3 separate regions of the Homo sapiens genome follow, and regions 1 and 3 are each linked to region 2. The links are contacts of gene promoters, found by promoter capture Hi-C in human tissues and cell types (Jung and others, 2019). All regions are on one chromosome and are shown on one strand. The core of a region is centred on a gene start or on the middle of the fragment in contact, and the rest is flanking DNA. Distances in the headings are between cores, read along the strand shown.

Region 1 (4,634 bases), core at 698-3,197, 360 kb before region 2:
TAAAAATACAAAATTAGCCGGGTGTGGTGGGCGCCTCTAATCCCAGCTACTCTGGAGGCTGAGGCAGGAGAATCACTTGAACCTGGGAGGCAGAGGTTGCAGTGAGCCAAGAATGTGCCATTTTACTCCAGCCTGGGCAACAAGAGCAAAACTAGTCTCAAAAAAAAAGAAAAGAAAAAAAAAGAAATCTCAATTCCCACGTCCTCCACAGGTCATGTAGCCATCCCCCTGCCTCCTGGAGAGAGGGTAACTCCAGGAGCCACACCTCCTTTTCAGGTAGGAGGTGCCTAGGCCAGCCTCCCTCACCAGCACCCCAGGCCCACAGCAGGCAAGCACCCCTCTCAGGAGGGCCACCCTCCTCCCCACGGCCCCTTCAAGGCCTCCGTGCCCGACCTTTGTCCATGTTGCTCCATGCCTGACTCTCGCTGAGGTTATCTTATCTCCCAGATGAACTGAGCACCCTGAGGGCCACGACAGTGCCTGCCCTCCCCCAACCCCCTCCCCATGGTGCCCCGTGAAGGAAAGCTCTGTTCTTGCTCACTGAGAGAGCAAATCATTGCCAACTACATGTCCAAAATCAGCCCACTTCTGCCTTGATAACCTCTAGGCCCTCAGCTGCTCTCTAAAACAAAGCCCTGAGGGCCCCTGGGCCAGGGTAAAGGCCATAAAGGGGGGATGGAGGGTGGCAAGGGGATTGCTCAAGGCCAGCTTGGTGGAGGAAGCCAATGCCCAGGCTGGCCAAGTCCTTCCCATCGGCCATGGTTCTCTCCCTCCACCCCTCTCTGTCAGTCATCCAGCTGAGCAGGGCACACGCCTGCAGGTGTGTCCACCACCCCCATACCCCACTCCCCACCTGGAGGATGGAAGTCCCAACACAGAACCCAACTCTCTGTCCCTACAACAGACGCTGGCTCTGGCAACATCGGCAGGGCTCCAGGCCAGCCTAACCACTGGAGCAATGAATGGGCCACGCAGCCACTCTCAGAAGGGTCTGCAAGGACAAGAACGCCTCTAACACTGCCCCTTGTCCGGGGCAGCTGCTGATTCCCCTGTCCTCGGACAGGCCTGGGCTCCTCTGGCCCCCTCCCTGGCAGGCCAGCCCTCCTCTGGGAGCCTTTCCTACCCGCAAGGCACCGCTCATAGCACCAAGAAGGAACCTATCACCACAAACTGCCCAGATCTTATCTGACTCCTTCCATATAAGGGGACACTGTCCAGGGCCGGGCCCCCACCAGCCCGCCCCTCGAAAAGCTCCTCAGGAGCCCCTGAGGATGCACAGACCCAAGAGGATCTGGATGCGGGACACCTGCCGGCTCCCCTCTGCCTGGCCAAGGCCAGCTCCAGAGCCCCTACCCAGTGACCTTGTCAGGTGACTCTCCCCAAGCCTCAGTTTCCCCACAGGGCCCATAGGGCACACCGATCCCCGCTTAGCCCAGGGCCCATGTTCTCGGACTCGGAGCTCGCGCTTCGGCCAACCCCGGAAAGTCGCGGGGCCCTTGGGTCAGAGGTTAGGGGGTCAGGCGCTCCGCTACCTCAGCTCCCAGTGGCCGCTGCCCACGCCGGCGTCTCCGTCCTTGTTGGGGGCCGGGGCTGGCGCGTCCCCCGCGGCTCCCACGTCGGGGCCCGCAGCGGCGTCCCGCACCTCCTCTTCCGCCGCCGCAGGCCCGCCGCCGCCGTGGCTCGAGGGCCGCGACCCTGTCCTCCGGCGCCGGGAGCTGCCGCGGTCGCCCATGGCCTCAGCCCGCACCCGGCCGCAGCCAAGCGTGGGCCCGCCGGGTTCGTAGCGCCCGAGGCGCGCGGCCCCACCTCCGGGCCCTAGACAACGGCCGCCACTGCCCCCTGCCGGCCGCCGTAGCCCGGGTGACCGCCTCACCAGCGCGTTCAACCCGCCCGCGTCGGGCCCGTCGGCCTCAAGGACAACGGCTGCGTTGCTCCGGAGCCGCTAACTAATGGACGGCCGCCTCTCTCGTCCATTTGTAGTCCGCGGCCGACCTGAGGCGGGGCCTGGAGAGGCTGACGGGGCGCAGGGCACCCTGGGAGTCGTAGTCGCCGCGGGCGCGCCGGCGCAGAGCACCCTGGGAGTCGTAGTCGCCGCGGCCGCACCGGCGCAGAGCACCCTGGGAGCCGTGGCAGCTCCCAGGGCCGGGGCTGCGGGCCGCAAGTGCGCGCAGCGGGAACGGACCTTGCATCGCTCCCGCGTGGTCCCGGGGTCCTGTCCGGCCCCACGGAGCGGGATGGTCCGCTGAGGGGTGCGCTGGGCCCCGACTTCCTGGCCGCTGTGCGCCCGCCCCTCGTCCCACTTGTGTACACACGGGGTCTCGGCGAGTCACTCCGGGCAATCATTTAGGAAGCGCCTAGTGCGCCACGGTCCAGCTGTCCGGGCCGGTGTCCGCGGCGGCTCGCGTCGCCCGCCACCCAGCGCGTTGGTTTCTGCGCACGCAGCTTACAGTAACGTCCCTGGCGCGCTTCTGCTCCGCGAGCCCTCTGGTTACCCCGGCAGGAACCTGCTTTTCTTCGCCTTAGGGGGACGTCAGACAAGGGCCAGGTCAGAAGACCAAGCTGGAGAAATGCACCAGGCCCTGCGTCACCGGGACGCCTGCCTTGCACGCGACTCCCAGGCTCTCCACCTCCCCGCCTGCAGAGCCCGGCGAGAGGAGGGCGAGGGCGAGGGCGAGGGCGCAGGCCCCTTGGTGGTGTCTTCTCAGCCCACCCACTCTCTCCACAAGGAGCTCCACGTCCCTCAACTCTCAGGGCCTCCCAGTTTCCAACGTGGGCCAGCCTCTCCAGGATGTCAGAAGTCTGGGCCGCTGGATCGCCGGGACTCAAGAGGCTTCTGTGCATTTGCACGGCCTGTGCAACCGCCCTGTTGTTTTTTGTTTTCTTTTTTCTTTTTTTGAGACAGTCTCACTCTGTCGCCAGGCTGGAGTGCAGTAGCGCGATCTCGTCTCACTGCAACCTCCACCTCCTGGGTTCAAGCGATTCTCCTGCCTCAGCCTCCCGAGTAGCCAGGACTACAGGCGCGTGCCACCACGCCCAGCTAATTTTTCTGTTTTTAGTAGAGACGGGCTTTCACCATATTGGCCAGGCTGGTCTCGATCTCCTGACCTCGTGATCCGCCCACCTCGGCCTCCCAAAGTGCTGGGATTATAGGCGCAAGCCACCGCGCCTGGCCTGTTGTTATTTTTTCTAAAGATGGGGGTCTCGCTATTCTGCCCAGGCTGGTCTCGAACTCCTGGCCTCACGCAATCCTCCCACCTCGGCCTCTGAAGGTGCTGGGATTACAGGTATGAGCCACTGCCCCAGACATCTTGTATGTTAAATGAAGCAACTAATCAACTGTAACAGCCACAGTTGCGGCCCACCTTGGCTTGGTGTGCATATTGCACAGGGCATGGAGTGAGAACATCCTGGATCTCAGGATGCCAGGGTTCACTGAGGACTCTGACTCTAGAAACACCTTCATTCCTCTGGGGTGAGCAGGGGCAAGCAGCACTTCTCTGGAAGCAAACAGGTGCTCCTCCTGAGGTGGGGTCCTCTCCCGTGGGCTGGTCACAGCCTCGCCTCTGAGCTCCGTCCTCTTCCACCACCTCCACCAACAGTGGCCAGCAGGGCTGCCCCCTTGGTTGCCCCCCTGGTGACATATTCTTGTCACCACAGGCCGCTGTGGGTTGCTGCCAACCAGGTATCAGGCAGGCTGGAGCTACCTGGCAGATGCCCTTTGTGTAGCCTGCCGAGTGGGGCCGCCCTCACTGGACCCAAGAGCCCCTCACACATGGGCCTTGGTCGGTCAGGACCAGCCCCATCTCCTACCCAGTCTCTCAGAATATTCATTTGTTGAATGCAGTCGCTGGCAGACACACTCTGTGGCCAGGTAGGCCCAGACCTGTCTGAGTATGGACTGACAGCAAGCTCAGAGAGGTCTGGACCTGGCCACGGAGCACCTCATGCTAGGCAGAGGAGATCAACGACTCAACCTGTGGTCGCGTCCCAACTCAAAGCCGGCAAGTGGCCACAGGAGAAAGACAATGGGAGGGTGGACTGGACCACCAGGGAGGATGGGTCGGGCCTGGTGAGCAGAGCCAGGCTTGGAGCCAATGGGGAAAGCACTGGCTGTGGGCGGGCCATTAAGGAAGGGCTTTGCCACCGGGGGTGGGGGCGTGGCGGGGCAGCAGCTCCAGAGGTGGGTGAAGCCCTGCCCAGACAGGCCCTATACCCTGGGATCTAGGGTGAGGGGAATGGTCAGGGTAGGTGAGGTTGGTTGGGGACAAGGGTGTGTATGGCTGGGTCATCGAGGAAAGCATGATGCAGATCACCCTGCTGGGGGCAGCAACAAATGAGGGGGCCCAAGCCCGAAGCGAGTTGCCTTCCAGGGCTAGTGGAATAAAGGGCTGGAAGTGGGTTGGGGCCTCAGGCTGATCCCAGGGCCTAGGGGCCATGGGTGGGCCAAGAAGGCCTGTGAGAAGCAAGGGTCCCAGGAGAGTTCACAGCCAGTGGTGGTCTATGGCCTGTGCTGCTCATTCAGAGGGAAACTTGTGTCTGTGGCTGGGAGGAACTGGGGGGTCGAGCTCATCCCAGGCCTCAGGGAGGCCACCTCCATCCTTCCACCCACTCTACGCATCAGAATCCTGGAGAAG
Region 2 (4,422 bases), core at 1,607-4,106:
CTGGCCAGCAGAGTGAGACCCTGTCTCAAAAACAAGCAAAAACTGGCTGGGCGCGGTGGCTCACACCTGTAATCCCAGCACTTTGGGAGGCCGAGGCGGGCGGATCATGAGGTCAGGAGATCGAGACTATCCTGGCTAACACAGTAAAACCCCGTCTCTACTAAAAATACAAAAAATTAGCCAGGCGTGGTGACAGGAGCCTGTAGTCCCAGCTACTCGGGAGGCTGAGGCAGGAGAATGGCATGAACCCAGGAGGCAGAGCTTGCAGTGAGCCAAGATAGTGCCACTGCACTCTAGCCTGGGCGACAGAGCGAGACTCTGTCTCAAAAATTAAAAATAAAAATAAAATAAAATAAAATATTCTTTTTTTTTTTTTGAGACAGAGTCTCGCTCTGTCACCCAGGCTGGAGTGCAGTGGCACAATCTTGGCTCACTGCAAGCTCCGCCTCCTGGGTTCAAGCGATTCTCTGTCTCAGCCTCCCCAGTAGCTAGGACTACAGGCGTGAGCCACCACACCCAGCTAATTTTTGTATTTTTAGTAGAGACGGGGTTTCACCATGTTGGTTAGGCTGATCTTGAACTCCTGACCTCAAGCGATCTGCTCGCCCCAGCTTCCCAAAGTGCTGGCATTACAGGTGTGAGCCACCGCACCTGGCCATTTTTCTCTAAGAACGTCTTAAAACAATCTTATATAATAATTCATCTAAGTATGTGAGGCTTGTCTCTCTTTTACCTTTATAAACATGTGTTCATCCAAATATGACCTCAGCTTTCTTGTGTGAGAAACCAGCGCCACAGACTTCCAGCTTAATGTAAACTTCCAGTTTACATTACATTGGCAGTGCTGGAGAAACTGAAGACCCACTGACCCAGCACATGCACCCCGGAAGCACCAGATCTTGGCAGTAATAACCATTCCTAACTTTCTAAAACACAGTGTGCCACGAACAAAGTGTTTCACAAGTCTTAATTTACTGAGTCCTCACAACAACCCTATGAGGCCAATATTATTAGTGTTCCCATTTTACAGATGAGAAGCCAAAGGCACAGAGACCTTGCCGAAGACCACAAAGCCAGTAAACAGAAGAGTCGCGACTCAGAGGCGGGCAGCCTGGCTCCAGAACCCGCCCTCCTGTCCACTCTGCTCCCCTGCCTCTCAGGAAGACAGCTGGCTACACCAAGTGCAGGGAGCGAGGCGCCACCCCCATTCATTCACTCCAAGCATTTATGGCTACAGAGCCTGCGCCCAGGGCGGTTTATGGAATGAGTCTCCTCGATTTACAGCCACACCTCCTATCAAATCGCCTTTCCCTCCCCCGGCGCGAGAATCGCACCTTGCTCCTTGTGGATCGGGCGCCGCCGACGGAACCACCTGCTGTCTATAGAGGGCACCTAGGACGCAGCGTCCAATTCCCCTCACTGGCTTCAAAAGACAAATCTCCGTATTGTTGTACCAGGAGGCACGAGAAGCCTCACCACTGTAGGTTTTTCAGCAGAGGTCACTGGAGGTCTGGTTAAACCCGTACAGCACTGAGGGGGAGGGGGCCCGGCTGCGTTTCCGAAGCTGCGCAGCGCCCACAGCAGCTGCTGGTGGGAAGCGGCTCGGAACACACCCACAGCTGCCAAGGAGCCGGCTGCACGTTTTAAAATAAAAAACGTCCTGGGCCCCAAAATGCACAGCCCGCCTCTCTCGCCGCCCTGGGCACGGAACGCCGCCTCCACCCACAGCACTCCAGCAACTGGGAAGCAACCGGGAAGCAACCGAGGGAATTCCAGCTCGGGGGGCAACCGGGAGGGGAAGGCTCCGAGCGCCGGAGCCCCAGCCCGCGCCTGCCGCAGAGGCGAGGCCGCAGAGCCCACCCGCAGGCGGCCATGACCCCACCTGGAGACGCCCATGTCCGCTCCCTGCGCCCCGGGGACAAAGCCCGAGGCTGCACCGCAGCGCACCGCAGCCCTGCACCCGGGCCGCCCTTCAGGACGCGGGCACCAGACCCGACCGGCGGGCATCCACCTTGTCCCCACTCCGACGGCGCCCGGGAATGCGGCCGGTGCCCCGAGCTCAGGCTGGGCACACGTGCACCCACACCCACCACGGGCGGGGTCCCCTCACACCCCCCTCGGGCAGGGGCACACTCACACCCATCTAGGGCCGGGCACACTCACACCTCCCTCGGGCAGGAGCACACTCACACCCCCCTGGGGCCGGACACACCCACACTCCCCTCGGGCCGGGCACACTCATACCCACCGTGGACAGGGGCACACTCACACTCACTCTGGACAGGGGCACACCCACACCCACATTGGGGCCGGGCACACTCACACCCACCTAGGGCAGGGACACAACTCACTCTGGACAGGGTACAGTCACACCCACTTCGGGCCGGGCACACGCGAACTCACCCACCCTCACACTCCCAGCCCGGCCCGTCGGCGCGCACCCGGGCCCCGCGCGGCCTCGGCCCCTCGAGCCTCCGCGCCCCCCGCCCGGCCGGGCCCCGCACACCCACGCCCCCTCCCTCCACGGCCCAGTCACAGCCCCTCCCGCCGCTGCAGTCGCCGCGGGCCTGGATTCCTTGCGCTGCCGGGCCTGGAGCCTCCGCCGAGGCTGGGCCAGGACCACGGGGACCGCAGCGCCGGCCCCTCCGCCATCTTCTTGGCCCGCGCCGCCCACCGCCCGTTGCCCGCGCTCTCACCGGCCGGCTGCGCGCGGGCCGCGCCGCCACAGTCCCTCATCCCGGCCCGCGCGACGCGCGTGAGCCAGCCGCCGCTCCCCGGCCTCTCTGCTGCTCCGCCGCTGCTGCCGCGGCAGCCCGTGCTGTCGGCGTCCTCCGCCGCCGCCGCCGGCCCAGTGCGCGGCGGCCGCGCGTCCTCCCGTCACCAAGCGCAACCCCCCGCCTCCGGCTCCGCCCCCGCGGCGGTCACTACCCGCCGCCAGGGGGCACTGCCTCGCGAGGCCGCATCACGCATGCGCTGGCGCGCGGCATGCCGGGAGCCGGAGTCCCGCGGAGGGCGCGCGCGGCATGCTGGGAGCCGCCTGGCCCCGCCCCGTCGCCGCGCCAGAGGCCTCCCGCGCGGACCTACCCTGTGAGTTAGCGGTGTCTTCCCGTCTCTTTCGGTGCAGAGCAGTTACCATCTGACACGTCTCGGTGTGGTTTGGTGTAATTTTGCCCTCTCAAACCACGTTGGGCTTCCCGAGTCTGAGATTTCACTTTTCTTCGACTCTAGAAATACAGCCATTCTTCTCAAAACGTGGGCTGCCCTGTTCCTCAGTCCTTCTTGTGGCGGGCTCGTGTCTCTTCACCTCCTGTTATTCTCACCTTTTTAGTCCTGTCACTTTTACTCGGTAATTCACTCAGCTGCAGCTCGACTAGTGCTCTATTCGGCGTTTTCTAATCTGCGTTCAGCCTGGTTTTCTAGATTCTCTTAGTGCCAGGTGCGTTTCTGGAAATTGAATCTGACTGGCATTTCTGGAGAAACGGAGGCTAAACAGCCTGAAGCTTCGATAGTAGAAGACAGGGGCGCACACCCTTCAGTCCTGGACATTCCCTGGGTCCTCAACTGTGAGAAGCCGCAAAGGGCTGAAAGGCCCCCGTCAAAAGTCATCCGTGGAGCTCCACCTCCTGCCCTGCAGCTCAGTCGCCTTGCAGGGACTCTCCCGCCTCAGGAGATCTCCCGTCGGGCTGTCTCGCCGCCCGCGCTTCCCTGTTGGGCCGTCGTCACACTTCACTCTTCACTCTTATACACAGGGCTCTGCTTTTTCGCCTCCCGCTCCCTCTCCACTGTATTCACTTAGAAAACCCAACTGGGCGAGCCCAACCCTTCTCCTCCATGACTGCTGAAGAAAATCACACATCCAGGCTGACTGCCTTCACCTTAAACTTGTGACAACACACTGGCGGCGAGCACTTCCCACCCCCGTGACCACACACTGGCGGCGACCATTTCCCACCCCTGTGACCACGCACTGGCGGCGAGCACTTCCCACCCCCGTGACCACACACTGGCGGCGACCATTTCCCACCCCCGTGACCACGCACTGGCGGCGAGCACTTCCCACCCCCGTGACCACGCACTGGCGGCGAGCACTTCCCACCCCGTGACCACACACTGGCGGCGACCATTTCCCACCCCCGTGACCACGCACTGGCGGCGAGCATTTCCCACCCCCGTGACCACACACTGGCGGCGAGCACTTCCCACCCCCGTGACCACACACTGGCGGCGACCATTTCCCACCCCCGTGACCACACACTGGCGGTGAGCACTTCCCACCCCGTGACCACGCACTGGCGGCGAGCACTTCCCACCCCGTGACCACGCACTGGCGGCGAGCACTTCCCACCCCTGTGACCACGCACTGGCGGCGAGCATTTCCCACCCCTGTGACCACGCACTGGCGGCGAGCACTTCCCACCCCGT
Region 3 (4,822 bases), core at 505-3,004, 330 kb after region 2:
ACTGATACCCTTTCTTCCAGTTGATTGAATCAGCTACTGAAGCTTGCACATGTAGTTCTCGTGCCATGGCTTTCAGCTCCATCAGGTCATTTAAGGTCTTCTCTACCCTGGTTATTCAGTTAGCCATTCGTCTAATCTTTTTTCAAGGTTTTTAGCTTCTTTGTGATGGGTTCAAACATCCTCCTTTAGCTCAGAGAAGTTTGATCATCTGAAGCTTTCTTCTCTCAACTCATCAAAGTCATTCTCCATCCAGGTTTGATCTATTGCTGGTGAGGAGCTGCATTCCTTTGGAGGAGAAGAGGTGCTCTGATTTTTAGAATTTTCAGCTTTTCTGCTCTGGCTTCTCCCCATCTTTGTGTTTTTATCTACCTTTTGTCTTTGATGATGGTCACGTACAGATGGGGTTTTGGTGTGGATGTACTTTTTGTTTGTTAGTTTTCCTTCTAATAGTCAGAACCCTCAGCTGCAGGTCTGTTGGAGTTTGCTGGAGGTCCACTCTAGATCCTGTTTGCCTGGATATGACCAGTAGAGGCTACAGAATAGCGAATATTGCAGAATAGCAAATGTTGCTGCCTGATCATTCCTCTGGAAGCTTCATCTCAGAGGGGTACCCGGCCGTGTGAGGTATCAGTCAGCCCCTACTGGGAGGTGCCTCCCAGTTAGGGTACTCAGGTGTCAGGGAGCCACTTGAGGAGGCAGTCTGTTTGTTCTCAGATCTCAAACTCCATGCTGGGAGAACCACTACTCTCTTCAAAGCTGTCAGACAGGGACATTTAAGTCTGCAGAAGATTCTGCTGCCTTTTGTTCAGCTATGCCCTGCACCCAGAGGTGGAGTCTGCAGAGGCTGGTAGGCCTCCTTGAGCTGCAGTGGGCTCCATCCAGTTCAAGCTTCCCAGCCGCTTTGTTTACCTACTGAAGTCTCAGCAATGGTGGGCGCCCCTCCCCCAGCCTTGCTGCCACCTTGCAGTTCGATCTCAGACTGCTGTGCTAGCAATGAGCAAGGCTCCATGGGTGTGGGACCCTCCAAGCCAGGTGTAGGAAATAATCTCCTGGTGTGCCATTTGCTAAGACCATTGGAACAGCACAGTATTAGGGTGGGAGTGACCCGATTTTCCAGGTGCCATCTGTCACAGCTTCCCTTGGCTAGGAAAGGGAATTCCCTGACCCCTTGCACTTCCCAGGTGAGGTGGTGCCTTGCCCTGCTTCAGGTCTCACTCGGTGGGCTGCACCCACTGTCCTGCACCCACTGTCTGACAAGCTCCAGTGAGATGAACCTGGTATTTCAGTTGGAAATGCAGAAATCACCTGTCTTCTGCATCGCTCATGCTGGGAGCTCTAGACTGGAACTGTTCCTATTTGGCCATCTTGGAACCTCCCATGTAGGTTACCATTTTTAGGGGTGGTCACTGTTGAGCCTCCAAGTCCTATTCCCTTAAAATGGAAGACCCAAAATCCTGTTTGGGTTGAGCTGTGGCCACTTACTCAGGAAAAATTGGGGGCCTTACAGGAATTAGTCAAAGAGCAATTAAACAAAGGAAGCATTGAGCCCACATTTTCTCCATAGAATTTGCCGGTGTTTGTAATAAAGAAAAAATCCAGCAGATGGCGCATGCTAACCGACTTACGTGTGGTGAACACATTCATTCAGCTGATTGGGGCCCTGCAGCTGGGGCTTCTATCCCCCACCATGATTCCTAGAGACTGGCCATTAGTAATTATAGATTTGAAGGATTGCTTTTTAAATATTCTTCTAGCAGAGTCTGATTTTGTGAAATTTGCTTTTACTATTCCTGCTATGAACAACAAGGAACCAGCAGCCAGATATCATTGGAAAGTCCTGCTGCAGGATATGTTGAATAGTCCTACTATTTGTCAAACTTTTGTGGGGAAGGCTATTCCACCTGTGAGAGATCAGTTTCCTGATTCATATATCATTCATTTTATGGATGACATATTGGGTACGGTCAAAAGTTAAGACTGACTTATCCAGTGTTATTCATATTTACAGGAGGTGGTAGCCAATGCTGGATTGCTCATAGCACCAGATAAAATTCAAACATCCACTCCTTTCCAATATTTGGGAATGCAGGATCAGGAAAGGGCAATTAGACCCCAAGAGGTTCAAATTCAAAAAGACTCTCTGAAAACTTTAAATGATTTTCAAAAATTATTAGGGGATATCAATTGGATTTGACCTCCTTTGGGAATCCCTACCTATGCTATGTCTAATCTGTTCTCTATTTTAAGAGGTGACCCTGCTCTCAATAGTAAATGAGAACTGACTCCTGAGACTGCCAAAGAATTACAAATGATTGAAGAAAAAATACAACAGGCCCAGGTTAATAGAATAGACTCAAATTTACCATTACAGTTCATTGTGTTCCCTACTCTCCATTCTTCTACAGGGGTTACAGTTCAGAGTGAGGACTTAGTTGAATGGTCTTTTCTGCCTCACAATACTGTTAGAACACTCACAGTATACTTGGATCAGATGGCAATCTTGATTGGGCAAGCTCACCTTAGAGTTGTTAAACTTTGTGGCTCAGATCCAGATAAGATTATAGTTCCAATGAATAAAAATCAGATTTGGAAAGCCTTTGTTAATTCAGTCAATTGGCAAATAGATTTAGCTGGCTTCATTGGAGTTCTTGATAATCTGAAGGGGTGGCCTGCCCCTCCACACCTGTGGGTATTTCTAGTCAGGTGGGATGGGAGACTGAGAAAAGAAATAAGACACAGTGACAAAGTATAGAGAAACAACAGTGGGCCCAGGAGAGCGGCACTCGGCACACCAAGGACCTGCACCGGCACCGGTCTCTGAGTTCCCTCAGTTTTTATTGATTATTATTTTCATGATTTCAGCAGAAAGGAATGTAGTAGGAGAGCAGGGTGATAATAAGGAGAAGGTCAGCAAAAAGCATGTGAGCAAAGGAATCTATGTCATAATTAAGTTCAAGGGAAAGTACTATGCCTGGATGTGCACATAGGCCAGATTTATGTTTCTCTCCACCCAAACATCTCAGTGGAGTAAAGAATAACAAGGCAGCATTGCTGCCAACATGTCTCACCTCCCACCATAGGGCGGTTTTTCTCCTATCTCAGAATTGAACAAATGTACAATCGGGTTTTATACCAAGACGTTCAGTTCCCAGGGGCAGGCAGGAGACAGTGGCCTTCCTCTATCTCAACTGCAAGAGGCTTTCCTCTTTTACCAATCCACCTCAGCACAGACCCTTTACGGGTGTCGGGCTGGGGGACAGTCAGGTCTTTCTCATCTCATGAGGCCATATTTCCGACTATCACATGGGGAGAAACCTTGGACGATACCCAGCTTTCAAGGGCAGAGTTCCCTGTGGGTTTCTGCAGTGCATTATGCCTGTGGTTTGTTGACACTAGAGAATGGCAATGACTTTTGCCAAGTATACTGCTTGTAAACATTTTGTTAACAAGGCACATCCTGCACAGCCCTAGATCCCTTAAACCTTGACTTCATACAACACATGTTTTTATGAGCTCCAGGTTGGGTCAAAGTGGCTGGGGCAAAACTACAAATTAACAACATCTGAGCAAAGCAATTGTTCAAAGTACAGGTCTTTTTCAAAATGGAGTCTCTTATGTCTTCCCTTTCTACATAGACACAGTAACAGTCTGATCTCTCTCTCTTTTCCCTACATATCCCCCTTTTCTTTTTGACAAAACCGCCATCATCATCATGGTCCGTTCTCGCTAGCCGCTGTCTCTCCGGAGCTGCTGGATACACCTGTAGACTAACAATAGAGAGGACAGACATACAAGGATTAATACAAAATTTGCAATAGTGGAATTTCCAATGGTTTTAACCCAAGTGACAGGTTTAAGATTCGTGAGGCTATCAACAGCTTTTTCCATTGCCTCAGTTTCTGGCACCAAATTTAACTGGGCTTTGGATGTTTTAAAAATTTGTTCTTTCAATTTTGAAATATCTAAAGTAAGATTATCTTCTCTTCCTTGTAGATGGCATCTAACCATGTCCCAGTGATGTTCAGATTCATTATAGGCTTGAGGTGTAATACAAAAATCTGATGTATTGTAGTCACACAGTAACTGAAAAAGATATTCCAAACTTATGAGCCTATCTCCCATCCAAATGACAGTTTGTCTAAGATCATTAATTTGATTTGCCAATTTTTGATCTATTTGAGTCTGAGAATTCCACAATTTTGAGGAATTCTTTTGCCAATTATTCACATATTCTGCAGTGTGAACAGAGGAGGGTAAAGCAATTACAGCAGCCCTAGCAGCAGCTGTGACTGCAATAAGACCCATAATCACTGCAATTAAAGTAAAAATGAATCTTTTAGATCTAGTTAGAACTCCTTTTAATACTTCTGTTAAGATATGTACGGATGGAGAAGCCTCCCACGGTCGGTCCATGGACACAGGGATCCTCGCACCCTCTCTTGCCCTCACTAACAGAATACGATGCTGCCAATCAAAAGTTGAATCAATGCAAGTAAACAATCTACAATTTTCACAGGTTATAGTTTGGGAATCTGGTTTAATAACTATGTTTCCTACAACTAGCATATGAGGGGGTTTTACATAACTTTGCAAAGGAATTGTCGGATTGGATTTTAGGTTAATAGTAAAATATGGTTTATGATTTCTTGTTCCCATAACTTGATTTCCAGACCAAATTCTAATGTGGTATGAGGCCACAGTGAGCTTCCATAATTCTGGGTGTTCAGGAGCAACAACAGGACTAACTAACTTTGGGCGGGGTGATGAAATCCCCTTTTCACCCCATTTCCATGGATAGGGTGATTCTAGCCTTCTATAAACC

The links. Contacts are between HindIII fragments. The study calls those that stand out against the background at their distance.
Region 1: a contact is called between the fragment with the promoter of DGAT1 here and the fragment with the promoter of ARHGAP39 in region 2, in 6 of the 25 tissues and cell types used here (aorta, dorsolateral prefrontal cortex, heart left ventricle and 3 more).
Region 3: a fragment that was not itself captured here is called in contact with the fragment with the promoter of ARHGAP39 in region 2 in 4 of the 25 tissues and cell types used here (dorsolateral prefrontal cortex, lymphoblastoid cells, mesenchymal stem cells and 1 more).

The regions. Positions count from the first base shown.
Region 1 is chr8:144,324,905-144,329,538 of GRCh38, forward strand. It overlaps DGAT1 (diacylglycerol O-acyltransferase 1), which reads right to left and starts at 1,948. Exons shown (of 17, transcript NM_012079.6): 1 at 1,533-1,948. The coding sequence starts at 1,732. RefSeq lists silencers at 1,575-1,644, 1,655-2,374. The HindIII fragment of the contact is 53,552 bases long and covers 1-4,634 here.
Region 2 is chr8:144,682,990-144,687,411 of GRCh38, forward strand. ARHGAP39 (Rho GTPase activating protein 39) reads right to left here and starts at 2,857. Exons shown (of 12, transcript NM_025251.3): 1 at 2,697-2,857. RefSeq lists enhancers at 724-1,336, 1,337-1,949, 2,563-3,174, 4,361-4,422. The HindIII fragment of the contact is 13,771 bases long and covers 1-4,422 here.
Region 3 is chr8:145,018,587-145,023,408 of GRCh38, forward strand. It overlaps the pseudogene LOC124902043. Among named protein-coding and RNA genes, the nearest start is that of ZNF252P-AS1, 18 kb to the left of the region's middle. The HindIII fragment of the contact is 6,395 bases long and covers 1-4,822 here.